Regions from separate parts of the Homo sapiens genome. Here all the other regions are linked to region 3. Evidence: promoter capture Hi-C in 16 types of primary human blood cells and fetal thymus (Javierre and others, 2016). All regions are on one chromosome and are shown on one strand. The core of a region is centred on a gene start or on the middle of the fragment in contact, and the rest is flanking DNA. Distances in the headings are between cores, read along the strand shown.

Region 1 (5,472 bases), core at 2,202-4,701, 240 kb after region 3:
AGGAATACCCGAGGCTGGGTCATGGATAAAGGAAAGAGGTTTATTTGGCTCAGGCTTCTGCAGACTATACAGAAAGCATGGTGGTGGCATCTGCTCTGCTTCTGGGGAGGGCCTCGGGCTGCTTCCACTCATTGTGGAAAGTGAAGGGGAGGTGGCATGTGCAGAGGTCACAGGACAAGAAAGGAAGCAAGAGAGAGAGAAGGAGGTGCCAGGCTCTTTTTAGGAACCAGATATTCTGGGAACTAAGAGAGGGAGAGCTCACTTGCCACCATGAGGACAACCCCAAGCCCTTCATGAGGGATCCACCCCCATGAGCAAACACCTCCCACCAGGCCCCACCTCCGACATTGGAGATCAATTTCAACATGAGGTTTGGAGGGCACAAAACATCCAAACTGTAGCAGTGATCAAGCAGATGTGGCAGCTGGGATTCTGTGGGTCAAAAGAAGCAGAAAGCAACTCCACCAAGGTCAGGAAAGCATGGGACCTTCTAAAGTGAATACCAGGTTTATGGGATGCAGGGTGGTTGTCTCTCAGAAGCCCAGGACAGGACTGCAGCTGGGCCTCAGGAACAAACTGAAACCAGAGACTCAGACACCATCAGGACTTCCTCCCTCCCTGTGTCTTTCAGCCCTGTGGATCTGCTCCTTTCTTCCTTTTCTCTGAAGACAAATGTCTTCTGCACCTTTTCCCAGGATGACCGCAAGCAGCTCCCAAATTTACAGGTGTATTAGGCCATTCTTGCACTGCTATAAAGAAATGCCTGAGGCCGGGTCATTGATAAGAAAAGAGGTTGAATGGGCTCACGGTTCTGCAGGCTGTACAAGAAGCACAGCAGCATCTGTTTCTGGTGAGGCCTCAGGAAGCTTCCAATCATGGCAGAGGGCAAAGGTGGAGTTGGACCATCACATGGCCAGGGCAGGAGCAAGGGGGTGGGGAGTTGCCACATGCTATTAAATGACCAGATCTCGTGTGAACTCAGAGCGAGAGCTCGCTCATCACCAAGAGGATGGCCCAAGCCATTCTTGAGGGATCTGCTTCCATGACCCAAACACCTCCCACCAGGCCCCACCTCCAACACTGGGGATCACATTTCAACATGAGATGTGGAGGGGACAAATATCCAAACTCTATCCCCAGGTGACAGTCGAGGTGTGGAGTAACTTGAAAACCCTCCTGCTCTAAAACATCATCAGGACTCTGTCTCTGAGTCTCCCATATCCACTAAGAAGGAGCCAGAAGGGCCTTCTGGATGTGGTCTACATTGCAGTGTCGGCCGATGAGACAGATAGATAGGAGAGGATGATGGGAATATGGATGTTAGCCAGTTCGAGCAAAGCACCGGCTCATGTATATGACAATGATCTCCAGATGCAGTACCTCTGTGGAGACCTTGGTCTGTCTGGCTGCCTTCTTGCCCTTCCCCTGTGGTGTTGTCTCAGTGGTGAAAGCTAGCTCAATTACACCACCCCCTCATGCCAGGCCACCAAAAGGAGACACAAGAAGAAAGGGACATGGCATGGAAAGCCAACCTAAGGGTAAGGAAACGACTTCCTCAGGATTGACCAGCAAACATGTAGCACCTTTATTCTGCTGACTCTTTCCATGTTTCTCTCTAGCCCATGAGCTCTCCAGTCTGGGATGAGCATGTGTTGAGTGGCGGCAGCTGGGTCCCTAGTGTCCCCAGGAGTTTCTGCAATTGGGCACATCTCTAGAGCCTGGCCCCAGTGTCTGCTGCTTCATAGATGCTGAATAAATGGTGGTTGAATGAACACATATGAAAGCCAATGTGCTAATGCGGCTGTGGGGTGGAAGGATGGTGTCCTTCGGATCTGAGCGTGTATCTCCAGGAAAGGCTTTCCAAACAGGACAGACACTGAGCGTGGGTTTGGGAGAAAGGCCAAGTGTATTAGTCTGTTCTCATGCTGCTAATGAAGACATACCCAAGACTGGGTAATTTACAAAGGAAGGAGATTTAATGGACTCACAGTGCCACATGGCTGGGAGGTCTCACAATCATGGTGGAAGGCAAAGGATGCACAAAGGCACATCTTACGTGGTGGCAGTCAAGAGAGCATGTGCAGGGGAACTCCCCTTCATGAAACCGTCAGATCTCATGAGACTTATTCACTATCACGAGAACAGCATGGGAAACATCCGCCCCCATGATTCAGTTACCTCCCACCAGGTCCCTCCCATGGCACGTGGGAATTATGGGAGCCACACTTCAAGATCAGATGTGGGTGGGGACACAGCCAAACCATATCATCAAGTTTTACCAAAGCTTCCTTCAGGTTCCCTGCAGCTCAGGCTGTTCCACAGTCCTGACTTGCTCTCTGCAGCGTACAGGGTGAGACCCCAGGAAACTCCTCAATTAAAACACAGGACAAGGTGCTCAGCATACCTGCCTGTCCTTTCTCTTCCTCCAGTACTTTCTGCTCTGGCCAGAGGAGATTCCCCGGCCATCTGGACCCTCCCTTCTCTACCCTTGTCTTACATTGCTGCCAACTTGCCCTCCAATATACACCGTCATCAACAGCCTATGACAGTGTCGCTAGCCTCACATCCTTGCTGAACTGATGGGAATTATTTAAATTTTTGCCAATCAGATGGAAAAAAAAATCATTGTTTTAATTTTTCTTTAAAAACTAAAGAAGGAGGCCGGGCAGGGTGGCTCACGCCTGTAATTCCAGCATTTTAGGAGACCAAGGTGGGTGGATCATTTGACGTCAAGAGTCTGAGACCAGCCTGGCCAACATGATGAAACCCCGTCTCCACTAAAAATAAAAAACTTAGCCGGGAGTGGTGGTGCACACCTGTAATCCCAGCTACTCAAGAGGCTGAGACGGGAGAATCATTTGAACCTAGGAGGCGGAGGTTGCAGTGAGCCAAGGTTGCACCAGTGCACTCTGGCCTGGGTGACAGAGCGAGACTCTGCCTCAAGAAGAAGAAAATAAAAAGCTAAAGAAGGAAATGAAAATTATTTAAAAATTAGTGAAGCTGAGCATCTTTTCATGTGCTTATTTGCTTTTGTATTTCTTTTCATGTATTTCTTTAGTTGCCTCTGGAGTTAATGTTCTTTTACTATTTGATTCTGGATCCCCTCTTAAGATAGAGAACAAATTTGACATGGCATAAGTAGGGATGCCTAGGGTTGGCCGAATCCAATTAATATCTCCCAGCAATTTTTGAAAGTCATTTCATATTTTAATGTGTCTTTTCTCATTTCTATCTATCTTTTGAGGATTAACCTTCCTTTCCTCTACCTGCATTTCTAAATAATGAAAAGGAGCTGTTGTTTGAATTTTATCAGATGCTATTGTCAGTCCTGCGTTGGCAACCTCTGTCTGCAGAAATGTGTAACAGTCAATTAATTTGTCTCTCATTTCTGCAGCACACAAAATATCATCAACATAATGAATGATATAACAGTCTGAAAACATGTCTCTAACTGGTTGAAGAGCTTGAGCTACAAAAGTCTGACAAATAGTTGGACTATTAAGCATTCCCTGAGGCAACACTTTCCACTGAAACCTGGTGGCTGGTTCTTTATTATTTATGGCTGGTATAGCAAAAGCAAATTTTTCAAAATCCTGTTTTGCCAGAGGAATGGTAAAAAAAAAAAAAAAAAAAGCAATCCTTCAGAACAATTATAATTAAAGGCCAACCTTTGGGGATCACGGCCGGAGAGGGCAGCCTGCGTTGGAGAGCCCCCATGGGTTGAATTACGGCATTAGCGGCTCTTAAGTCGGTTAGCATGCGCCATCTGCCGGATTTTTTCTGAATTACAAACACTGGCGAATTCTAAGGAGAGACAGTGGGTGAAACATGTCCTTTTTTAAATAGTTTTTTTAACTATTTTATGTAGCGCCCCTAACTTTTCCTTAGGGAGCGGCCACTGTTTGACCCAGACAGGATGCTACAGGGCGAGTCTGAATTGCTCCTTCACCGCAGTGAACTGCCGGTTGGGCAATAATGGGCACCGCGAGCCGAGTTGCAGCCAGCCTGGTTTCAGGCTCCCTCCCCCAGCACTCACTCGACTGAGGAGGAGGTGGCCATCGTGGTTTTAGCCCTGACGGCCCCGATGGTTCTGGACCTCCTTCCCCCAGTTTTGGTGATTCAGGATATATTACCTCCTGTAATTGATTGTAGTCAACACTTTGTGTTGACCGAGCCATTACAGACTCTGCTACATTTTCACAATGTGAACTTTCCGTTCCTTTCTTGAACTCTGTCCCCGCCTCTTCTTCACAATCTATTACACAGCTTTCAGGGGCATCAGAAACCAAAACGCTATCTTCTTCTGTTTGAAACGGTTCTAAAGCTGCTTTAATAATGGCCCAATCATTGCATACTGTAAGCGGGATGATTTTGCCTTCCCTACTTGCTTGTTTTAATTCTTTGCCAATTTTTTCCCAGTCTTTTAGATCTAAAGTTCCCTGTTCTGGAAACTATGGGCAGAATTGTTCTATTGTTTGAAATAGCATAATTAGATTTTCTGTAGAAGCTCTAACTCCCCTTCTTCTTAAAAGAATTTTAATAAAGCTGAGATAAGAGGCATATTTACTTTCAGTTTGTCCCATTGTTACCCTGGGTTCCTCCGTGTGCACAAGCTTACCGCAAGGCTCACCGTGGACGTACTCGGGAATCTCTCATCGACTGTCCTCAATGCTCACGGTCTTAGCGCACCTTCACCCTAGAGAAAGGCCCCACGTTGGGCGCCAAATGAAGAGGGCCAGCCCCATCCACACCTGTGGGTATTTCTCGTCAGGTGGGACGAGAGACTGAGAAAAGAAATAAGACACAGAGACAAAGTATAGAGAAAGAACAGTGGGCCCAGGAGACTGGTGCTCAGCATACGGAGGACCCGCACTGGCACCGGTCTCTGAGTTCCCTCAGTATTTATTGATTACTATTTTTACTATCTCAGTAAGGGGAATGTGGCAGGAGAACAGGGTGATAGTGTGGAGAAGGTCAACAAGAAAACATGTGAGCAAAGGAATCTGTGTCACAAATAAGTTCAAGGGAAGGTACTATGCCTGGATGTGCACATAGGCCAGATTTATGCTTTTCTCCACCCAAACATCTCAGTGGAGTAAAGAGTAACAGAGCAGCATTGCTGCCACCAACATGTCTCGCCTCCCGCCATAGGGCGGGTTTTCTCTTATCTCAGAAGAGAACAAATGTACAATCGAGTTTTATACTGAGACATTTAGTTCCCAGGGGCAGGCAGGAGACAGAGGCCTTCCTCTTATCTCAACTGCAAGAGGCCTTCCTCCTCAGCACAGACCCTTCACGGGTGTTGGGCTGGGGGACGGTCAGGTCTTTCCCGCCCCACGAGGCCATATCTCAGGCTATCACATGGGGAGAAACCTTGGACAATACCCGGCTTTCCAGGGCAGAGGTCCCTGCGGCTTTCCGCAGTGCATTGTGCCCCTGGCTTATCGAGAATGGAGAATGGTGATGACTTTT
Region 2 (5,782 bases), core at 2,843-5,342, 150 kb after region 3:
AAAAACAAGAATGAAATTAGAAACTCAATGGATGAGATAAACAGACTAAGCACAAAGAGTGATTTAGTGAGCTGGAAGATAATTTATGAATAAGTTACTAATAAATCAGAACGAGGAGTTAAAAACATGGAGAATATGAAAGAAATTTGGGACATGGAAGATAGAATAAGAAGGTCAAATATTTGTATAGTCAGAGTTGCTGAAGAAGATTATAGAACCATAGGAGAGAGGCAATATGTCAAGGGATAATGCTAGAGTTGCTCACAGTTCATGAAAGGTACCATTCCTCCACAAGCCCAAAGACTTACAAGCAGGTTAGTATAATAAAATGTTAGTGGAGTATACATGGTGGGTATATTTTCTTTAATTTGGCTGATTGCTGGAAAAATTTTATAATAATAAGTTTAGAAAAACCCTACAAAAGTGAAAGAATAAAGGCAAAAGCAGAAACTAACAAAATAACAAAATCAGAGAGGATCAATACAGCTGTAATTGGCTCTTTAAAAAGACTAAAATTTAACAAAACTAATACAAAAGATATGAATACAAATAAGTAATATTAAGAATGAAGAACAGATAATAATTACAAATACATGAGAGATTAACTACCTAAGAGAATTTTGTGAACAACTCTGTACCAATAAATTTGAAAACTTTTGTGATAGGCAAATTCTCTGGATTAAAAAAAAATCAGAAATTGACTCAAGTAGAATTAGAAAACCTGAATGTTTATGTACCTATTAAAGACACTGAATCAGTAGGAAAATTTGTACTACAAAGGATCATAAGGCCCAAAAAACTTTACAGATAGTTTCGACCAAAAAGAAGAGATAAGTGCAATCTTATATAAACACCTACCAGGAATGGGAGAAGAGAATATTACCCACCTTACTTTATGAGGCTAAAATAATTTGATAAAACAAATAGCAATTACATAAGTAGAAAGCTGTAGGCCAATGTTACTGGTGGATGCGGATTTTAAAATCCCAAAGAAGAATATGTCTAACCAAATACTCGTACACAAATGTTCATAGAAGCATTTTTTCATAATAGCCAGAAAGGGAAAACAACTCAAATGATCATCGACTGATGAATGTGTGAATAAAATGTAGTATAATATATAATAAAATGTAGTATAATATTCCATTGTATTATGCAGCCACAAAAAGAAATAAAGTGCTGACACATGAACCTCAAATGGAAGATTGACCGCAAGCTTCCAATTTCTCTCCATCCCCAAACACCCTCTAAAATAACAGTAAAGAAATCTGTTAAAGGCATAAACCCACAAAGATATGAAGAATTGGAGAAGAAAATAGCAGTAACATATTGGAAACTAGAATGCAGGTAGATATGTAGTAAATGACTTACAAGACCCCTCCCCCCCACAAAAAAATTAAATCTTAAATGTGGTGGAAGGAAGGCAAGAAGCAACTTGACTTATACTGCAGACTACCCAAAGAGTTCAGGAATTGTCCACAGTAGGTAGTTCTGAAGTAGGGTTGAAGGGAAAGTAAAAGAAGCAGTAATGGTCAAAGGCATCAGGTAAATTCCAAGATCCCTTCCCTCACTCCATGGAGGTGAAACACTGTGACTTTCCATCCCCCATCTCATAGAAAAGTTGAAGTTCAGTCTCTCTGGAGAGAGTAAAACAAAAGGTCTCTGCACTGGGGGATACTAGACATATTTGACCACGAATACTATACTAACGACAAGGTGATTAAGTAAATAGGCATAATGGATATGAGAACCATTCTCAAGCCCTTTTCCAGAATGTTGACAACCAGACCATTACAATTGAGTTTGGAGATTAGAAAATATTTCTCTGGGCTATTTGAGCAGCCCAAGTGGCAAAACGTAGTTCCTAATATTGGGGGTTACTCAAGATAACCACCCAATGGGATCACCCTGCAGAAAACTCCAGAGCTGACAAACACCATCCATGTACACAAAGCTCCACGTTAGCTTTTTGGTCTTTCGCTCGTAAGTATAAGCAACAGTCAGTGATTTCATGTGACATTTCAGGAGAACTCTAGCATGAAAGATTGAAATCAAAACAGATTGGAGGAAATAAGAACTATGCCAGAAGGAAAAGTCTTTTTATTTATTTATTATTTTATTTTTTTGTGAGGCGGAGTCTCACTCTTTCACCCAGGCTGGAGTGCAGTGGTGCAATCTCAGCTCACTGCAACCTCTGCCTCCCGGGTTCAAGCAATTCTCCTGCCTCAGCCTCCGAAGTAGCTGGGACTACAGGCATGCGCCACCATGCCTGGCAGATTTTTGTATTTTTAGTAGAGACAGAGTTTCACCATGTTGGCCAGGCTGGTCTTGAACTCCTGACCCCAAGTGATCCGCTCGCCTCGGCCTCCCAAAGTGCTGGGATTAAAGGTGTGAGCCACTGCGCCCAGCTAGGAAAAGCCTTTTTAAAACTCTATTATTACCAATATTCTCAGAGAGATGAGCTATTACAACCATAAACCAGGAATATCTATTAAGTCAACCAAGCACATTAACAGATTAAAGGAGAAAAATGATATATTATCTTACTAGATGCAGAAAAAGCATTTGATAGAACTCAACATCTATTCATGAAAAAATCTATTAGTAAACAAGGAATAGAGGAATTTTCTCTAACCTCATAACAAATGAAAAATGAATCTTATAGAACCTGTAGTAGATATCATACTCAGTGGTTAAAAGCTAAAAACATCTCCTAAAGAAACAAAATGAATAAGAATTGGAAAGGAAGGAAGAAGACAAAGAGTGATTATTCTTAGATGAAGCGATAACTCAAAATAATCTGCTTATATGAATGATAACTCGAAATAATCTACTTAGAAATAATTAGAATTACTAAGTTAGTAAAATAAATAATTACAATTAATAAAAGATATCAAGATTGATGGATATAAAATCAATATACACAATCCAGTTCACTGTCTAGATAATGGTAACAAACAGAAAAAAGAATTTAAACAAAACTTACCATTTACAGTAACAACAAACTCTAGGCATTTAGCGATAAACCTAACAAAAAATATTGTGGAGAAAATTATTAAAACTTATTGAAAGACATTAAGGAGAATGAAATAAGTGGAAAAGTAGACCATGTTCCTGAATAGGAAGACTCAAATATTAAAGACATTATCTAACCAATTCCCTAACAGAGATTTTTGAGGAACTTTGAAGCTGATTCTAAAAGGGTCAAGATCACGCAAGACATTCTGGGGGAAACCAGGTTATCCATGTTGAGTAAAAACAACAACAAAAATGGAATGAATTTTATTTCTATTGCACCACCATATACAATATTAAAATCCATTCAAGTGAGATTATTGCTTAAACGTGAAGCAAATTATTGCAAAACATTATAATTTCAGGAAAAATATAGAGAAATAAATTATGACCTCAGCATAGGGAAGGATTCCTTAAACATAATGTAAGCCATACAGGAAAAGATCGACATTACATTAAAAGTATTTCTTAGTCAAAAGAAATACCATAAAAAGAAATGAAAAGACAAGAAGCTAGACTGTGATGAGCTATCTGCAACATACATGATAGCAAATGATTACTCTCCAGGGCAGAGGAAAAAGTACTAAGGGTAAGTAAGAAAAATATACAAATAATTCAATACAAAAATTAACCAGAAACAAGGCAAAAAAAAAAACCCAAAAAACAAAACAAACCCAAACAGGCAATTCACAGAGGAGAAATAAACAAATGACCTTTCAACATATGAACAGGTGCTCATACTAATTAATAATCAGGGGAATGGAAAATCAAACCACAGTAAGATACCATTTTACCTGTCTCAGGTAGGAAAAATGTTAAAAACTCTGACAATACCAAGTGTTGGCCAGGATGGGAAGCAATAGAAATTCTTATACACTCCTGGTACACGTGTAGATTGGTTCACTCTGGAAAATAGTTTGGTGATATTTAGTAAAGTTGAAGATACTCATATCCTATAACCCAGTGATTCTATTCCCAAGTAAATGCCCTAGAATTTCTCCCACAGGTGCATGAATGCCCATGGCAGCATTGCTTACAATAGCCCCCAAACTGGGAGCAACTCAAATATCCTTTGATGGCAGAATGATTAAATAAGTCATGCAATGGAATATCTGACCCACTGCAAATGAGTGAAATAGGGCTAATGCTTCGACACAAGTGAATGTGGAGTACCTAATATTGAACACAAAACTGAAGCCGCCCAAAATGCATACAATGTGATTCTGTTGATATGACATTCAAAAACAGGCAAAATGAAATAGTCTGTTATTTAAGGATACTTGCATACTCATAAAACTATATTTAAAAGTAAAAGGAGTGGTAAGCACAAAATTCAAGATAGTGCTTTACCTCTTGGGAGGAGAAGGAAAGATGGTACAGGGGAAACAGCTTCAAAGATATGGATTGGTAGCATTGCACTTCTGAAGCTGGGCCCTGATTTTCATCTGTGTTATAACTGTTTGTATTGTGCAAACTATATTTAAGTGCATTTGGGATGCCTTCACGAGAACTTTAATAAGTATAGTTGATCTTGTTAGGGTTTAATCTCTGAAGTATCACAGGCCTGTCAGATTCGTGAAGCAAATTCCTTTTTGAGTGAATTTTGGCAAACTGTTCCCATGGTGAATAATGGTATGGTTTCATTGCGAAGGCCAAATTGGCTATATTCTGTTTGAAATTACAGTTCTCACTCAGATATGCAGGCTGATTGACTCAGGTCTCATCAGACTATTCTGTTACGATCTGATGGCAGCTGCTTGGGTGAAGCCACAACTTGCCCTCCTTCCCTTGAGCAACCAAGATAGACATCATTAACCTGACTCCTGTGATGTTGGTTCCTAGGAGGAGCACCGAACAGCCAGTTCCCTGAGCAGTGGTGCCCTTACGTGGACAAAGAAATTCAGCCTAGATTATTTGGCCCTGGACTTCAATTCAGCATCACCAGCCCCCATGCAGCAGGTAGGAAGGGCTTTGTGTCTAAGAATTCCCAGGTGATTCCATCTCTGCCTAGACTTTTCTGATTATCAAACCATGCATATTCTCCTTAGAAAGTGTTAAAAATGCAGACATGTATAATGAAGAATATTAAAATCGGCCCTCATCCTGCCTCCCAGAGAGAATGAAATCTTGGTGTATTTCCTTCTAGGGTGTGTTCTTTGTGTGTGTATGTATAAATAGATGTGATATTCACACTTCAAAATTTGGACCAAAAAGTTTATAGAAAAATATCTCAGGCAGAAATGAGGGTCGGGTAGAGGACCCTCCAGGTGTAGGAACATCCTGTTTAGGGAACAAGTAATAGTCTAGTTTGGTTAGACTTGAGGGAGCAGTGGAAAGAACTGTAAGTTGGAAGTAAGGGGCCTTGAATGCTGAGTTGGGCAGCTACCCCTTTGGGTAGAATTCTCATCTGAAAAATGGGAATCAGAAATGACAACACTTATGTCAAGGGCTGTTGTGAGGATTAATTGAGTTAATACATGTAAGTTATCATATCTGTGAACTAGTATCACCCACTGTACAGCGTAAGGAATGAGTGCATGGGAAACAACTGAGGACTTTCCTCCTCTTTTGCTGAGGTAACTCCTACTTGTTTTCTACTTTTAATATCGTTCCAAAAACCTGATATGAGACTGGAGAAAAGCTGGTAAGAAGGGTGGGAGCAATAAGTATAAAAGGAGCATTAGTCAGTTTTGGTAGACAAACAACCCCCAAATCTCATCTGCTTTCAACACAAAGGCTCTTTTATTGCAGGCCAGAGCCTTTGTGT
Region 3 (5,492 bases), core at 1,198-3,697:
AGTCAAAAGGCAAATCATTTGGACAATCTGCAAAATGGAGAGAATACAATAACTACTACAGTAAAGTCTGTTTCTGCTTCCTTACACATAGATATAATTATGTTATTTAGTCATTATGAGGGGCACATTCTTATCTCCAAAACTAGCATTCTTAAACTGAGAATTATAGATGGGGTTCAAGAATCCCTAAGTCCCCTGAAATTATATAAGGCATTCTGTATAAATGCAAATGTGCATTTTTCTGACGAGTGTCCATAGATATAAAGCCATTTGGTCTTAATTCTGACCAATAAAAAAATAAGTCAGGAGGATGCAATTGTTGAAAGCTTTGAAATAAAATAACAATGTCTTCTTGAAATTTGTGATGGCCAAGAAAGAAAATGATGATGACATTAGGCTTCTAAAGGACATACATTTAATATTTCTGTGGAAATATGAGGAAAATCCATGGTTATCTGAGATAGGAGATACAAACTTTGTAATTCTAATAATGCACTCAGTTTACTCTCTCCCTCTACTAATTTCCTGCTGAAAATAACACAACAAAAATGTAACAGGGGAAATTATATACCGTGACTGAAAACTAGAGTCCTACTTACATAGTTGAAATATCAAGGAGGTCAGAAGAAAATTGGACTGGTGAAAACAGAAAAAACACTCCAGTCTGCCATATCACCACACAATAGGATCCCCCTTCTTGCCCTCCACCCCCATAAGATTGTGAAGGGTTTACTGCTCCTTCCATCTGCCTGACCCCTTCACTATGACTACACAGAATCTCCTGATAGTAAAGGGGGCTGGAGACAAGGATAAGTTATAGAGCAGTTGGAGGAAGCATCCAAAGATTGCAACCCAGGGCAAATGGAAAACAGGAGATCCTAATATGAAAGAAAAATGGATCCCAATCTGAGAAAAGGCAAAAGAATGGCTACTTTTTTCTATGCTGGAGTATTTTCTAATAATCCTGCTTGACCCTTATCTGACCTCTTTGGAAACTATAACATAGCTGTCACAGTATAGTCACAATCCACAAATGATGCAGGTGCAAATGGTTTATAGCCCTGTGAAGTTCTTAAAGTTTAGAGGCTAACTTACAGAAATGAATAAGTTGTTTTGTTTTATAGCCCGGTAGAGGAGTTAACCCCAAAGGTGATATGGTTTTATTTCCTGTTATGTTTAACTTGATAATCTTATTTTGGCATTCTTTTCCCATTGACTATATACATCTCTATTTCTCAAATGTTCATGGAACTAGCTCTTTTATTTTCCTGCTGGTTTCTTCAGTAATGAGTTAAATAAAACATTGACACATACAAACAAATGCCTTTGAGAATTGTGTTTTTACACTGGAAATAAAAATGTGAACACTGATTTTTAAAACAAATAGGGGCACTGAATAGCAAGATGGACACTCTAGAAAACCAAATTAGTGAGTTAGAAAACCAGATTAAATTGAACTCAGAGTAAAAATGATATAATTCATGAGAGTCTGAATAAAATAAATCAGAAATGGAGCCTCAATCCAGGAGAACAGCTTATATGGAGAGAGAGAGACTGAGAGAGAAATGGGAGTTTCTGTTCAATGGGCATAAAGTTTCAGCTATGCTGCTGGGCACAGTGGCTCATGCCTGTAATCCTGGCACTTTGGGAGGCCAAGGCGGGCGGATCACCTGAGGTCGGGAGTTCAAGACCAGCCTAGCCAACATGGCGAAATCCCGTCGCTAATAAAAATATAAAAATTAGTTGGGCATGGTGGCACATGCCTGTAGTCCCAGCTACTTGGGAGGTTGAGGCACAAGAATCGCTTGAACCCGGGAGGCGGGTGGAGGTTGCAGTGAGCCAAGATCGTGCCGTTGCATTCCATCAGCCTGGGCAACAGAGTGAGACTCCATCTCAAAAAAAAAAAAGTTTCAGTTATGCAAGATGAATTAAGTTCTACAGATCTAATGTACAACATTGTGCATATAGCTAACGATACCATACTGGGCACTTAAAAATTTGTTAAGAGAGCAGATACCACGTTGTGTTCTTACTACAGTTTTACAACAATGCAAAAATGCATTGTAAACACTATGTGCAAATAGAATAGCAAAGAATGTATACAGTGCCCATGAGCATAACATTCTAGTGGACCCACAATGCATCAGAGTTCAGTGAGACTCAAAGGGAGAAGAATGTTGGCAAAGTCAGTGGGGAGGAGAAAATGAGTGTGATGAAATAGGCGGTCTCATTAAACTTCCCTTACAAAACACAAGATCAAAGATAAAATTATTAAGAATTTCGAGACAGTGACATCAGAGCAAACGAAACATAGGGCCCCTCAGGGTGTGGGGCCCTGTAGACCTGCATAGATCAAACTCCCATGAAGCCAATCCTGAGTCCCAGGCAAGCTGGGACTTTTGGTCATCCTAGCAATAGTCATGTGAGTGCACCATCTTGGAAGTAGATCCTCCAGTACAGTCAAGCTTTCAGATGACTGCAGTCCCAGCAGATACATGACTCCAATCTCATCATCCACTCCAAAACTAACCTACAGAAACTATAAGGTAATAAATGTTTTCTTCACAGTTGCTAAGTTGGAGGTCATTTTTCATTCAGCTAAAGTTAACTTATATGACAGCCATATTCTTTTTACAATGGAAAAGTCAGACAGGCATACAATGCTCATTTTCAGCTTATTCACATTGTCACTATTTTGTGGGGTTACCTGGTGGGCACAGGACAGTGACCAAGTTTGCAGGTCCTCCAGCTCCTGCTGGATCTTTTAGCTTCTCCAAATCCTAGAAAAGTTGTGTGTTTAGCTCTTTCAGAAAACACCTGACCTTCTCATGCATGTTACTCCACCATCGAAGTTAGAAGCTTGGAGATAACATGAGACTGATGCAGGTTTTAGTCCATTTCATGGGCTCTTCTCTTTTCAGGCTTCCAGTGTATACTTGCTTTCTCCACTTCACCTCACCTTTCCTTCCACAGAAAGGTCAGGGTATGGAGCTCATATGAGGGTTTAGAGGAATTTGGCTCAAGGGCCAGGGCCAGCTTCCTCCAGTGTTTCGGGTCACAACCTAGATACACCTTTATCAGCGCCTGGGAATGTTCAAGGTCCTAATTTTCATTCAGGCCTGTTGGCTGGGTCACAGAATGATCAAGCCACTCCATGATTTTCTAGCATGACACAGCAAGAAACTGGGGGAGACTGGAGGACTCTACAAAAACTTTCATTTTATGTATTTCCTGGTAGCTCTGTTTTCTGATAGAACCTAACTGAGATACCATTTTTGCCAGTTCTTCTATGGATAAGTATTATTTTTTTAATTTTTTTAATATTTTATTTTTTGTAGAGACAGTATCCTGCTATGTTGCCTCGACTTGATTTGCATTTTTTTTTTTTACTTTAAGTTCTGGGATACATGTGCAGAACATGCATGTTTGTTACGTAGGTATACATGTGCCACGGTGGTTGGGTGCACCCATCAACCCATCATCTAGGTTTTAAGCCCCTCATGTCCCCCAGGCTGGAGTGCAGTGGCATGATCATAGCTCACTGCAGCCTCAATCTCCCAGGCTCAAGCCAGGCTACTGCCTCAGCCTCCCGAGTAGCTGGGACTACAGGCATGCACCACCACACCCAGCTAATTTTTAAATTTTTTGTAGAGACAGGATCTCGCTATGTTGCTCAGGCTGGTCTCGAACTCCTGGGCTCAAGCTATCCTCCTGTCTCAGCCTCCCAAAGTGCTGGGATGACAGGCGTCTGCCACTGTGCCTAGCCAGTACTATTTCTTTTTAATTAGTTTGTAAGAGTTCTTTGTACGTTAACAATCTTAATTGAATGTCTGTCGTATATGCTGTGAAATTACTTAATTTGTCATTAACCTTTTATCTTTTTTAAACAATGTTTTGCTATATGAAAGCTTTACATTTTTATGTTATAAATTTATCAGCATTTTCATTTATGGCTTTGGGTTTTATGACATGCTTAGAGTAGCTTTTTCTGCACCAAGATTATAAAAATATCCACACATAGAATTTTCTATCATAAAAGTATGACAGAAAATGTCATATTTTGTATATAATTTTATTTTTTGTTTAGTCCTGGATCCATCTAGAATTTCTATTTTGCATAGCATGGCAAAGGGCTCACACCCAACATCATATTAAATAAGGTCTTTTTCCCTGATATGAAATGCCACATATATATGTTATTATAATGCATAGTTAGATACCATGTGGTGAATAAAATATCTTAGAATTATTCAAGCCTAAGAGGATAGAACTACTGCAAGGATGGGTTTTGGTATCAACACAGATGTTTATACATAGAGAGAAAATGATGTCTGTGTGCTTAGCTGTCAAATAAGGAGACTGGGGGAGGGTTAAATGTAATCAGTGATATCATAAGGAGTGGTGGAATTCTGTTTGGAACTTCAGAGACCTAAGGAGAAGACTGACCAGCTTCTTCTGAAGACTTCTGCCCTCTAAAGACTAAGGCCTAATTCCACTGGTTTCTTTGAATTCCGTGGTCCTAAGTCCATTTTCAGGTAAGTGGTTTCCCGCTGGATGTGGGTCTCTTTAAGCCGTATCAAACAGTAGGTGAGTGTATCAGTTATAAATGTCTTAAGTAATAGGAGGCCCAAATTATAATGGCTCAAATAAAAGTATATTTTTCTCATACCATGCAGTCCAGAAGTAAGCAGATACAGGTGTTAGTTTAGTGGCTTGAAATTATCAGAGCAACTTCAGGCAACATTTCTTAAGCAATATTCAAGGCAGCATAAAGGGAAAATGGTAGCACCATCTCTTTTATCAAGACAGCAAAAAGCCTTCCCAAAAGCTATCCATCAGATTTCCCTTATGTTTCATTATCCAGAGCTATGTCACATAGCCATGCCTAACTTCAAGGATGGCTAAGAAAGGGAGGATTCAGCTTTTTCAGCTTATCTAGTTGGATGTAGTAAATGAAAAATGGGTGGGAACAATATCTGCCAAAAGTCGCCATTCATTCAAAAAATATTTATTGAGCACCTGGATACCCTATGTGCTAGGTACTGTTTAGCAGTGAACAAAACAGACAAAAATCCCTGCACTCATAGAGCTTACATTATATTCAGGAGATACATATAATAAAGTAAAGTAAAATATATTCTACTAGGTTCTGATGAGGTTCTGGAGAAAAATCAAGCAGGTAAGACAATTAGGAAGTTTGTAGGAGGGTGGTACAATTTTAACAATGGGATCTAAGGAAAATCCTCATTGAGAAGGTGATATTTGAGTACCTGACAGAGGTGAGGAAATAAATTCTGAGAATACCTGGGGGAAAAGCATTCCCTGGAAAGGGAAAAGCAAGTTAAAAAGCCCCAAGGTAGGAACATGCCTAGCTTGTTCAAAATGAAATGAGGCTAAGTTGGAGTGATGATCAAGAGGAGACTCATAGGATATGTGGTCAGCAGTAACTAGGACATAATCTGACCTACAACCTACCAAGATCTCTTTGGCCA
Region 4 (5,507 bases), core at 801-3,300, 180 kb after region 3:
AGACAGGTTGGTGTCTTTTGTCCTGATGTCTTTGAGCTGACAGACCTAGTTTTGGACACATAGATAGGTAGGTATGCACGAGCTGGTGGCCGCAGGCTTCCACACAGCTTGGGCTGACTCTGCAAACAGGGAGACTGGAGACACAGCTACGGGAAGGATGACACAACATGGTCTTCACCACACCGAGGCTGATCTGGGTACTTCTGCCGTGTACCCAACGTAAAGCAACGCTTATTAGGTTGTCACCTCAAGGGGAGCAGCCAGCTGCCTGGTGGAAAGTGGATTATATTGGACCCATTCTCTCATTCAGGGAGCAGGAGGATTTTTGTCCCAGGAATAGAGACATTTTCTGTATATGTATCTGCCCTCCCACCTGCCACAGTTTTGCCAGCAAAGCCATCTATGGATACCCTAAAGGCTGATCCCCATCACTTTCTCCCAAAAAAGGTTCTGTTCAACAGGAGATGAAAGATTTGCCTGGCCATTTGAGGCTCCTCATTGTATTGAACCAACAAGTCTTCCTCCATTAAATCTGAAACCTGCCTACCTAGTCATTAGTCCATCCCTCATCCCCTCCCCCCCTTGTAAGTTGGGACTCCACACCTAGACCCTCATCTGACTCTGAGTTGCATACTACAGGTGCAGGGTTCTGTGCGTGGTTCCAAGCAGCTGCGGAATGGGACCCTAGTGTCCCAGTTTCTTCTGAAAGGCCTGAGGGACAGCAAGGCTTGGAGGCCCCTGCTGTTCACCACCTTTCTGCTAATCTACATAGTGGTTGTGGTTGGGAGCCACATGTTCACAGTGGACTACCGACGCCACACTCCCATGTACTTCTTCTTGGGCGGCCACTCGCTGATGGATGCCGCCTGTATCTCCAACATGGTGACTCAGGTGCTGGTGCATTTGCTGGCTCAGGTAGGGCCCGTACTTTATTGTGCTTGTCTCATCCAGATATGCTTTCTCCACTTCCTGGCACCCTAGGAGTCCTTCCTCCTCACAGCCGTGGCCTATGATTCTATGCAGCTATCTGCCAGCCATTGCACTACTTTGTCCTCGTGGGCCGACTGACCCACACGGGCCTCACTTCCATCTCCTGCCTGCTGGCCTTGGCCAACGCATTCACCTACAGCATCCTCACAGCTCTACCCAAGTTCTGCAGGCCTTGCCTCATCACCCACTTCTTCTGCGACCTCCGTCACTGCTCAGACTCTCTTGCTTCAGCACACGTACCAATGAACTTGCCCTGTTCTTCAGTTTTCTGGTGGCTCTTGCACACTGCGTCCTGGTCGTGGTCTCCTATGGACACGTTGTGGCTGCTGTTCAGGATTCATTCCACCCAGGGCTGAAGAAAAGCCTTTTCTACCTGTGTTGCCCATCTCACTATGATCGGTCTTTTCTACGTCACTTCAGTCCCCTGCTACATCCTTCCCAACTCTGCATACTCTGGCTTGGGCGACTGGGTGCTCTCTGTGCTATGTGTGGTCCTCACTCACATGCTAAACCCCATCTTCCCCAGCATGCTGGGATGACAGGCATGAGCCACCGCACCGGCCAGGAAATATTTCTTGAAAGAAAGAATGAGAGAGTACCTCGTGTCTCCCCATTATGGGGTTTGGCACTGGGGATACAGAAAAGCTCCAGACAAGCTTCCTGCCTTTATGGAGCTCACAAAGTAGGCTGGGCTATTAGGCACTAAGACAATTCACTGTCATACAATGGTTACTCGCCATTCCTTCACAGGAAAGGGTCACTCACCCCTACCACCAAACCTAGGAACGGCCACATGCTGCTCAAAGGGTCAACACAGCTGCCTTTCACTGTTCTCAAGTGATGGCGGGTGGGCGCTCAGAGAAGACCAAAGGCTCAAGGCCAGGACACTAGGCCATCCGGGGCTTCCCAACAGACCCCCATCCCGAGTCCCGCACAAGAGCCTGCAATGACCCCCACAGGGCGAAACAAGCCGTGCTCATCAGCCCTGGTAGGTATGGCTGGGCCCTCCCCCTGGGCCATATGAGGCCAGCCTACATCATCCCCACTTAGACCGCCCCACTCAGGCCAAATTCCTAGGAAAGGGGCCGGGAATCTGTGTAGACCGGGGGAGATTGTTCTCATCATATAGGTGAGAGATGATGCCGACCTGGCCTAGGGAGGGTGGAGAGGACACATTGAAGGAAACTGACTGGACGGAAGGTGAGATGACAGAGTGCGGGACCATGGAAACGCGTGTCGCCAAGACAGAGAATGAAGCAGAGGGAAGCCATTCCGGGAGTCGGGGGACAGGCAGTGAGGTCAGCTGGGGGCAGGTTGGGTTGGAAGTACCTACAGGCCATCCAAGCTCACATGACTGTGCTGGTTTGAAACTCTGGAATTCAAGCAAAGAGATCCCTGCTTAACTTTAATTCAATGGCCCTCTTTGAATATAGACATCCTGGCCCTGTCACCTCTGAAGCTTCACCATTCCAGATGATGCCTAATGTGATTTCAAATACATTTCATCCATTCCAAGCAAGTCTTCTCTGATTCGGAAACACAAAGACTGTCTGCCAGCGTGTGTGGACCAGGACCGGCCCTCTGGAGGGGAGGGGCTGTTATGGGCCTCGGTAGGTTTTGTGTTTAAGCACACATGTGTTCTTCATGAGTACCTCCAAGGTGCAGAAGAAAAAAAAAATCTCAGTGTGTAATAGTGACAAAATGCTGATGAAGCAAACTATCAACAGCCCTCTGGAGGAATAACTTTCAAGGTAGGATGAACTGTGTGTGTGGAATTTGGAAACAATTGTTTTTTGGAAGCGGCTGAAAGCCACAGAGATGACCAGGAGAGCCGGGCGACATCTGCCCCGTGGTGTCTAGCGTGGGCCCCGAGGCTCGGTGACTTCAGAGACTTCATCACGGCACCGTCCGCCTCATTACATCAAGAAAAGGTGCCAATTAGAACAAGTTTCAGAGGAAAAATATGGCCTCCAATGAATTGAACAGGCTAATTTAAACTTTGGCAAACTGGCTCACTCCAGAGCTAATTAGAAATTTTCCTCAACAGCAAGTAATGAATAACTTTCTTAATCGCTTTCTGCTTATAAATGTAATACATGTTCACTGCAAAAGAAGAGGAAATATGGGCAAGTTCGGAAGAGAAAATAAAAAACCAACCGTTATCTCACCGCCAAGGATAACGACAATGAAAATGTGGTGTATTTCTGGATAAATGAGCCAATTCTTGTCTAGTGCTTACAACAGTGGCTTGGGACATGGTGACCACCCAACAAATGTTATTGGTTATTATTATTCTCATTGCTAGTAGGCTTAGAAAAGTCTTTTCCAATGCTATCCCTCCCCCAGCCCCCCACCCCCAACAGGCCCCGGTGTGTGATGTTCCCCTCCCTGTGTCCACATTGTTCAACTCCCACTTACGAGTGAGAACATGCGGTGTTTGGTTTTCTGTTCCTGTGTTAATTTGCTGAAAATGATGGTTTCCAGCTTCATCCATGTCTCTGCAAACGACATGAACTCATTCTCTTTCATGGCTGCATATATTTCATGGTGTATATGTGCCACAGTTTTAAAATCCAGTCTAACATTGATGGGCATTTGGGTTGGTTCCAAGTCTTTGCTATTGTGAAGAGTGCTGCAATAAACATACATGTGCATGTGTCTTTATAGTAGAATGATTTACAATCCTTTGGGTATATACCCAGTAATGGGATTGCTAGGTCAACAAGTTGATGGGTGCAGCAAACCAGCATGGCACATGTATACCTATGTAACAAACCTGCACGTTGTGCACATGTACCCCAGCACTTAAGGTATAATAATGAAAAAAAGGAAAGAAAAGAAAGAAAGAAAGAAAAGGAGAGAAAGAAAGAAAGAAAGAGAGAAAAGTCTTTTCCATTCCAACAATCAAATAAAGTTCATCTAAATTTTCTTCCAATGTTTTTACTTTTATTGTGTATATATTAGGTCAATACATTCTAAACACTTCAGATACTATAGAAATATTTCTCTATATAGCATTCCCCCGTGCTTCTACTGAGATATGTATCGGCAGCCTGAGAAGTCGGCATTCCTTTGTCCACACCCATCCCCGTGCATCCGTTTCATTTCATTCGCTCCACAGTCAGCCGCACCTCAGAGTTGTCCTTCAAAGGGTGAGAGACTAAGACTTTTATCCAGTGACTCTTGGCCCCATCGGTGGGGGGCTGTGTCCAAGGGTACAACTTCCCCAGAGCTTCCAGGCCCACCCTGTGCAGGGCGCAGGAGAAAAAGCAGATGTGTTGTGAGCTGCAGGAGAGGCGCTGGCACAGGGCACAGAGGTCCCCACCCCAGCAGCCGAGAGGCAGAAGGCACGTGCAGGGGGCCCAGAGGCTCAGCAGGATCTGAGATGTGAGAAGATGTCTACGAACACAGAGGCGCAGGAGGAGGCCGGAGATGACGGTCACTGGAGGGGCTCTGAGACGTGCACAGAAAACAGGACAGAGCTTGGCAGCAGCACTCATTTGTCGCCCTGCCACACACAGCCTGTGTTTTCTCCTTGACAGCATCTCAGTAGGACCCAATAATGCCAACGCCTGGAGATCCCTCTGGACAACCGTCTTCATCCTCCACATCTGGTCCTCCCCTACACCTGGGGCCTGGACCTGCTAAGGAGCTCTTTCCAGTTTTCTAGACACCTGTGGAATCCCTTCACCCACCCTTACCCATCGGTGTGGCTGCTCTCCAGCTCACTCTCGTCCTGCTCTCCCCAACTGCCTCGGCTCCAGGGGGACGAGGCTTTCCCTGGGCTGCTGCCTTCCCTGCCCCCTTCCCAGTCCCCAGAAGGGTGCCAGCCTCAGAGGCCTCCAGAGCAGAGCCTTGCTCACCGCAGCAGCTCCAGCTGGAGGAGGTTCCCCCTGCCTCCTGCACCCTGACCCCTTCTTAGAGCAGCAGAGGCAGAAGCAGGAGCCTGCTTTGGAAAATGACATGTTTTTATTGCTATGTCTGCAGTGGCTTTTTAGCACAGTAGAATGTCCCCGCAGGCCCGCCACCCTCACCCAGCCCCAGCCCTGCAGCCTCTGTCTGGGTGTCGGGGAAGCCTTTCTTGGGGTCACTCAGCCGTCTGAGGACTGGATGTGGCACAGACATACATAGGTTAAAGCTGCTACACGGAAGACTGGAGATGCGGGAAGTGCATTCGCTTTAAGCCTAGAGGTGGTAGCCGTGTCCGGGGTCCCTTCCTGGGGGTGTGCCTGTTACCGAAATACCAAGGGTTTGGTCTACGTCCTGCTGCTGGCCGCACAGAAAGCCAATGACTGACTGAGACGAAGAGCATTACCAGGGAAGACGGCTTTAATTGGGTGCTGCAGCCGGGGAGATGGGAGTTAAGTCTCAAATCCATCCCCCTGACTAAAACTAGGGGTTTATATAGCCAGGAAGAAATGCACCAATGTGTAGGAAAACAGGAACTCGGGAGGGCCCAGAAAGCAATCCTGATGAATTTGGGGGGTCCAGCATCTCATTGTCTGGATGTGGTTATC
Region 5 (5,449 bases), core at 1,706-4,205, 140 kb after region 3:
AGGAGCCTCACTCCATAGCTATCACCACCCCAGGCCATGGGGAGTACTGTCTGCCCATGTTCCCTTAAGGCCCAAGGGCATTTCAGGAAGCTTGCAATGAATGCTGTCATATAAGAGAAAAAGTGCCTTCCTTTACTCTGATCCCATCTGCATTCTATCTGTCACAAATCTCTTAAATTATCTGGCACATGGATTATACCTATGTCTTTGATTCAGAGTTTTCTCTATATTTATGTTATTTGATGGCTTTAAAAGGGTCTGGTAGTGGAAAGGGAGTTAAGGGCTTGTGCTCACACATGCAAGTCCCACAATGAGAAATTATTCCATAATAGTTTCTAAGAATTATTAAGTACTTTCTGTGTTCTAGGCAGTGTTCTATGTCCTTTCCAGAAGTCCTATGAAATAGGTTATATTATTGGCTTCACTTTACAAATAGGAAACTGAGACATAGAGAGGGTAAGTAACTTGTCTAGTGCCATACAGCTAATACATGGTGGTGTAGGGATTTATAACTAGACAGTCTGACTTCAGAGTAGTTTTTAACCAGTACTTGTACATCTTTAAACATATGTAAGCATAGATATATACATATATACATACACATATATGTATATATAATATATATGCTTAATTCCATCAGTCTCTGTCACATCTTTTCCGAGCTGGGAGTTGTCCTTGCATTTTAAGATGTTGTCGAATTTTAAGTTTATTTCTTAGAGGCCTCCTGACTTTTCACACCTCCAAGCTCTTGAGGGCTGAGGGCTGAGGGCCACTTTGCTCTGGCCACCACATGCTGGGAGCACTTGCTGAACTTCTCTGCACCACTCAACACTGTTGGCCATTCTTTCCTTCCTGAGGCTTTCATGGCACCATACCCCCAAGTTTCCTCATTAATCTATGGTTGCTCTTTCTCAAGATACTTCACTGACTTATCTCTTAGTTCTTTGAGTCTTAGGATTCTCTAGAGTTTTGTATTTTTCTCAACACTTGCAACCTAGATAGTTTCATCTACTCTTATGGTCTAAATTATTCTAAATTTTAATATCACACTGTTTCTTGCATCCATCTGATGAGTTTCTAATCCTGGATAACTCCAAATGTCCTTTCTCTCCATGCGTCTACCTGAGTAGCTTTTCTGGTCACAGACCTCAATTGGGCCCTTAATGCTGCTCCACAAGGCAATCGTTTCTCTGTTCACCCTGTTCTCCTGCTCGTTACAAGGAATATTTCAAACCTCTCTCCTCTCCTCAAACCTCCAGTTCTGCCTCCAGTTCAGAAGATTTATGTAATAAATGCAATAAGAATTTGTTAATTACTTGCTATGTCTCCTCCTATTTCACAGAGAGAACTCAAACCATTGGCTAGAAACTTCTTCAAAATCTGGTCTGATTTTTCATCTGTTGGGGAAATGTGTTCTGACTGCCCAGCTAGACTCTAATAGCAACTGTTGTGTTATGCTTCTCTGCCTCTCTGGACTCTAGTTTCAGTTGATATTGTTCTGCATTTCTCACCACCTTGGCTTATTTCTTGCAGCTGATGTAGAAGGCCAATCCTTAAGACACCGAGACAAGCGGCTTAGTTTGAATTTGGTAAGTTCAACATTCAGGTTCTTTTAAGCATCAATTTTACCAAAAACAGCTTGATCTATGTATATTCCCTTGAAATCTTTAAGATTCAGCACTCTGAGTCTCTGAGGAATCTTCCAGTCTCCCCTGAAGACTTGAACTTGCTTGGGAACTACAGGACTTGGTGTTCTATAAGGGCCTTATTGGTTCTAATGGTTCAGACACTTGCTCAACTTGGTATAGCTACTTAAGGCATCACTTTATGCTTAAAGCATTTGCATAAACTCATAACCCTCTGTCTTCCAGTGTCAGATCTTGGAGACTTATCGCCTATACTAAAACGATAAGTCCAGAGGCAGAACTTGAGCTAGAGGCTTGTCTGACTTTGCTGAGGAAGTTCAGAGTTATACTTGGATAATTTGGAACTGAAACCATATGTACAGCTTTGGCCGCCCTCTGATAGCAGTTTCCATGACTGGTCTGTGGTTCCCAATCTGTATCTATTCTTTTGCAGCCATGCAGGTTCTCCCCGATGTACCCCACAGCTTCAGCCAGTATCGAAGACAGCTATGTGCCCATGAGCCCCCAGGCTGGTGCCTCTGGTCTTGGACCCCACTGCAGCCCTGATGACTACATTCCAATGAACTCAGGAAGCATCTCAAGCCCGTTGCCTGAGCTGCCTGCAAACCTGGAACCTCCCCCAGTGAATAGAGATCTCAAGCCTCAGAGGAAATGTAAGCACTTGACCAGGCCTGCTGTACAGGGGTAGGGGAGCAAGGTTCCGGTGGTTGCATAGAAAAGGTTTCTGTAAAGGAAGACCTAGAGAAACCACCCCAGAGGGCCGGAAAGTGTAAGGTCAGGAAAGAAGTGGCTGGGTTGGAATAGGAAGGGCTGGGGCACCTTGCTGCCCCAGATTGTCATGATAATAGGAGTCAGGAGACTTACAGGCACTGTGGCCTTGCAAATACAGCTGACAAAGCCAAGTTCATTCCAGAGGGCTCGTCTTTGGCTGTTTCCCTAACAAAGGCCCAGGAATAAGTGATGGTGGATTAGAATGGAATCCCACCTGGCATCTCCTCATTAGACAGCACTTGAATGTAATCATAGTGCCAGCCTCTGTAAGGCAGTCAGGAATAGCCTTTGACACCAATTCCTGAAGGTCAGACCCAGTCACATGCAGTTTATCACTCATCGTTCTGTGCATGCCCGTCAGCAGAGGTATTCAGGGATAGAAGAGGATTTTGGCAATGAGCAGGCTGACTCCTCTGTGCACGGGGTGCCTTGCAGCTTCTGTCTTACTCCCAGGCAGCTTCTCTGGTTTGCTAAGCAGCACAGACAGACAGAGAGATAGATAGGAAAAGAGGGAAAGAGGAAGAGCAGGTCAGAGTGACTTTTTAACTTCATTCTTGCTCATCCTCCCCTTCCCAGTTGGCTGTGTGATTACAAGGAAGCATTGGTAGAATGACTGATCTCTCGTGCATTCCAACTTCTCTTTGCCCTTTAGAAAGCAAAAAAAGTCACTTCAGGTGGCTGTGCCCAAAGCTGCCAACTAAGACCCCTACTCATGCCTGGTCTACTCCAGGCATATTCCCTTAAATTTCAGTCAAAATACATTTATACATTTACAATGCATGCGCTGCATATGTATTGCTGTGGTGGGCACTGGGTGGGATACAAAGATGAGGGAGCAAGGAGGGTTCTTCAGTCTGAGGGGGAGGAAGATATGTAAAATCCACCTGGACCATGAAATAGAATTATGAAATCAGTGCTAAATAGGAGAACAGACCCTGTCTTATGAGGTTCAGAGGAAATAGCCATTAATTCTGGTCAGAAACAATTAAACAACAACAGAACTTTCTGTGATGTTGGAGATAATGGCTATTGAACCCTTGAAATTTGGCTAATGTGACTGAGGAACTACATTTTAAATTGTATTTAATTTTAATAAATGTACATATATGTCTAAATGGGCACGTGTGGCTAGTTGTCACGACAATGGACAGTGCAGCTCTGCAGGACCTTGTGATAGGCAACAGAAGATGTCTGACAGACTCAGGGTTGGAGATTTAATGAGTGGATGCAAAGGTGGATACCTGAGCCAGGACTAACTCAAGAAGATGGGCCACTGAGGTGGAATAAGGGTTGGGGCAGATACCAAGTGCTTTTCTAGGTGCTGAGACTACTGCAGTGAACAAACCAGATACACCCCTATTCTCCTGGAGCACAGTTTAGGTCCAGATAAATCATAGATGAGTGTATTATCACAAACTGGGGCTGTGCTGTGAAGGGTAAGTACAAGAACTTGAGAGCCCAGGCTGTGGGGCCTGATCTTGTCTAGAGGCAAAGAGATGGGATAGAATGTTCTAGGCAGAAGGATCATCAGGTGGACAATGGATTGTAGGTGGGGAAGACTAGGACCTGGGTGATCATCTCTGCCTGTGATAAGAAAGGTAACATTTCCACTTCAGACACATCGGGTGTGAGGTAATAGATGTTGCAATTCCACAAGGTCAGAGACTTTCATCTGCTTTATTCATCCTGTGCCTTCGACACCTAGAAGCACGCGTGATATACAGAGACTTCTTAATAATGCCTTGCCACGTTGTTACCTCCAGCAGGTAATGTGACCATTTGCTCAGTATTTGTCTTTACTCCCAGTGAGGCAGGGAAGAGGAGGACAGTGAAATTCACCCTCATCATCAGTGCTGCCTGTTAGTAAATGTGGATTTGGTGTGCTGGGAAAGTGAAATGTCATAGTTTTACAGTCTTTAGACTCTGGCCTTGACCTCCTGGATGTTGCACACTGTCTTGTAGCACGGCCACCTCCTCTGGACCTGAGAAACCTCTCGATCATCCGGGAACATGCATCTCTTACCAGGACCCGCACTGTGCCTTGGTAAGACTGATTGCTCAAAAGAGCCTCATCCAGCACAGACACCCCGGTGTGTGTTAGGCCTCTGATTAAATGTAGTTGAAGCCCATCTGATCTAGCTTAAGCCAAAGGAGGGGTGAGGTTTATTATCGAGAGCAAGAGCTGTTTTATGGATCACAAAGGAAGGAATATGTCTGGGTCTCCCAGGATCCTGGAATCAGGAACTAGTGTGCTGTTGGGAACCCAAGGAATCTACTCACTTCTGCTTCACTCTTCACATCTGTGCATTCCTTTGTCTTTGCAGTATTCTTTTCTATTGCACAATCCTCATGGTCAAAGATAGCTGTACCATACCCCCTGAACTTGTTTGCATGCTACAACTCCAGTACCAACAGATGGGCTCTTTTTCAGTGCCAATTCAGATTTCCTGGGGAGAGAGAATTGTGTTCCCCAGTCTCAGTGGAACTGGCTATGGCCCAAGCCCAACTTTGTGAATGGGGTAGGACAAGGGAGTTCCCAGGTTCACGGGCTGGGTAGACAGACTTCAAAATGTAATTGCACCCTTTCATCTCACCTTTTAGAAGTTGCATTTTTAGTCCTGAGCTTGGCTCAGGAGTTTCTCGGTTCACTCTAAATGCCACAAAACACAATTGCATTGTAAAGCAGAATTCTGCAATGAGCTGTATTTCCAGCCAAGACTGTGACTCAGCTCATGCTTCTGACTCAGGAGAAGGATGGGAGTTGATTGGCAGTCTTGTGTCCTATCAGAGGAATGGCCATACTTCCTCACTTTTCCTTACATTGAATAGAAACAAGAAGGCCCCAAAGGAGTATTTTTTTTTTTTTTTTTTTTTTTTGCTAAATGATATGATGCCCTCGTCCGTTTAGAAAGCTCATGAGCTGTGTCACATAGAGGGCCTGAGAAAAAGCAGCCTTTGTGAATTGGGAGCCATTTGCCCCAAAGTGGAGCAGAAACTGTTGGGCATTTTGTGCCTCTTCAGGAATTGCTTTG

The links. Contacts are between HindIII fragments. The CHiCAGO score rates a contact against its expected background, and 5 or more counts as called.
Region 1: a contact is called between a fragment that was not itself captured here and the fragment with the promoter of SMIM9 in region 3, in 15 of 17 cell types (activated CD4 T cells, total CD8 T cells, naive CD8 T cells and 12 more). The highest score is 13.4, in activated CD4 T cells.
Region 2: a fragment that was not itself captured here is called in contact with the fragment with the promoter of SMIM9 in region 3 in 2 of 17 cell types (monocytes and activated CD4 T cells); the score reaches 5.6 in monocytes.
Region 4: a fragment that was not itself captured here is called in contact with the fragment with the promoter of SMIM9 in region 3 in 2 of 17 cell types (activated CD4 T cells and M0 macrophages); the score reaches 5.1 in activated CD4 T cells.
Region 5: a fragment that was not itself captured here is called in contact with the fragment with the promoter of SMIM9 in region 3 in 1 of 17 cell types (neutrophils); the score reaches 5.4 in neutrophils.

What each region holds. Positions count from the first base shown.
Region 1 is chrX:154,588,904-154,594,375 of GRCh38, reverse strand. No RefSeq gene overlaps it. Among named protein-coding and RNA genes, the nearest start is that of CTAG1A, 6.5 kb to the right of the region's middle. The HindIII fragment of the contact is 2,329 bases long and covers 2,287-4,615 here.
Region 2 is chrX:154,679,324-154,685,105 of GRCh38, reverse strand. It overlaps GAB3 (GRB2 associated binding protein 3), which reads left to right. Exons shown (of 10, transcript NM_001081573.3): 9 at 4,858-4,974. Among named protein-coding and RNA genes, the nearest start is that of CTAG2, 29 kb to the right of the region's middle. The HindIII fragment of the contact is 5,748 bases long and covers 1,219-5,782 here.
Region 3 is chrX:154,831,617-154,837,108 of GRCh38, reverse strand. It overlaps SMIM9 (small integral membrane protein 9), which reads left to right and starts at 2,447. Exons shown (of 5, transcript NM_001162936.4): 1 at 2,447-2,546; 2 at 4,426-4,535. It overlaps F8 (coagulation factor VIII), which reads left to right. Exons shown (of 26, transcript NM_000132.4): 26 at 1-1,317. The HindIII fragment of the contact is 2,139 bases long and covers 329-2,467 here.
Region 4 is chrX:154,654,803-154,660,309 of GRCh38, reverse strand. LOC105373387 (a long non-coding RNA gene) reads right to left here. Exons shown (of 2, transcript XR_938543.3): 1 at 5,306-5,507; 2 at 4,941-5,219. It also overlaps the pseudogene OR3B1P. Among named protein-coding and RNA genes, the nearest start is that of CTAG2, 4.0 kb to the right of the region's middle. The HindIII fragment of the contact is 803 bases long and covers 1,649-2,451 here.
Region 5 is chrX:154,696,144-154,701,592 of GRCh38, reverse strand. It overlaps GAB3 (GRB2 associated binding protein 3), which reads left to right. Exons shown (of 10, transcript NM_001081573.3): 5 at 1,534-1,589; 6 at 2,080-2,299; 7 at 4,380-4,461. Among named protein-coding and RNA genes, the nearest start is that of CTAG2, 45 kb to the right of the region's middle. The HindIII fragment of the contact is 5,725 bases long and covers 93-5,449 here.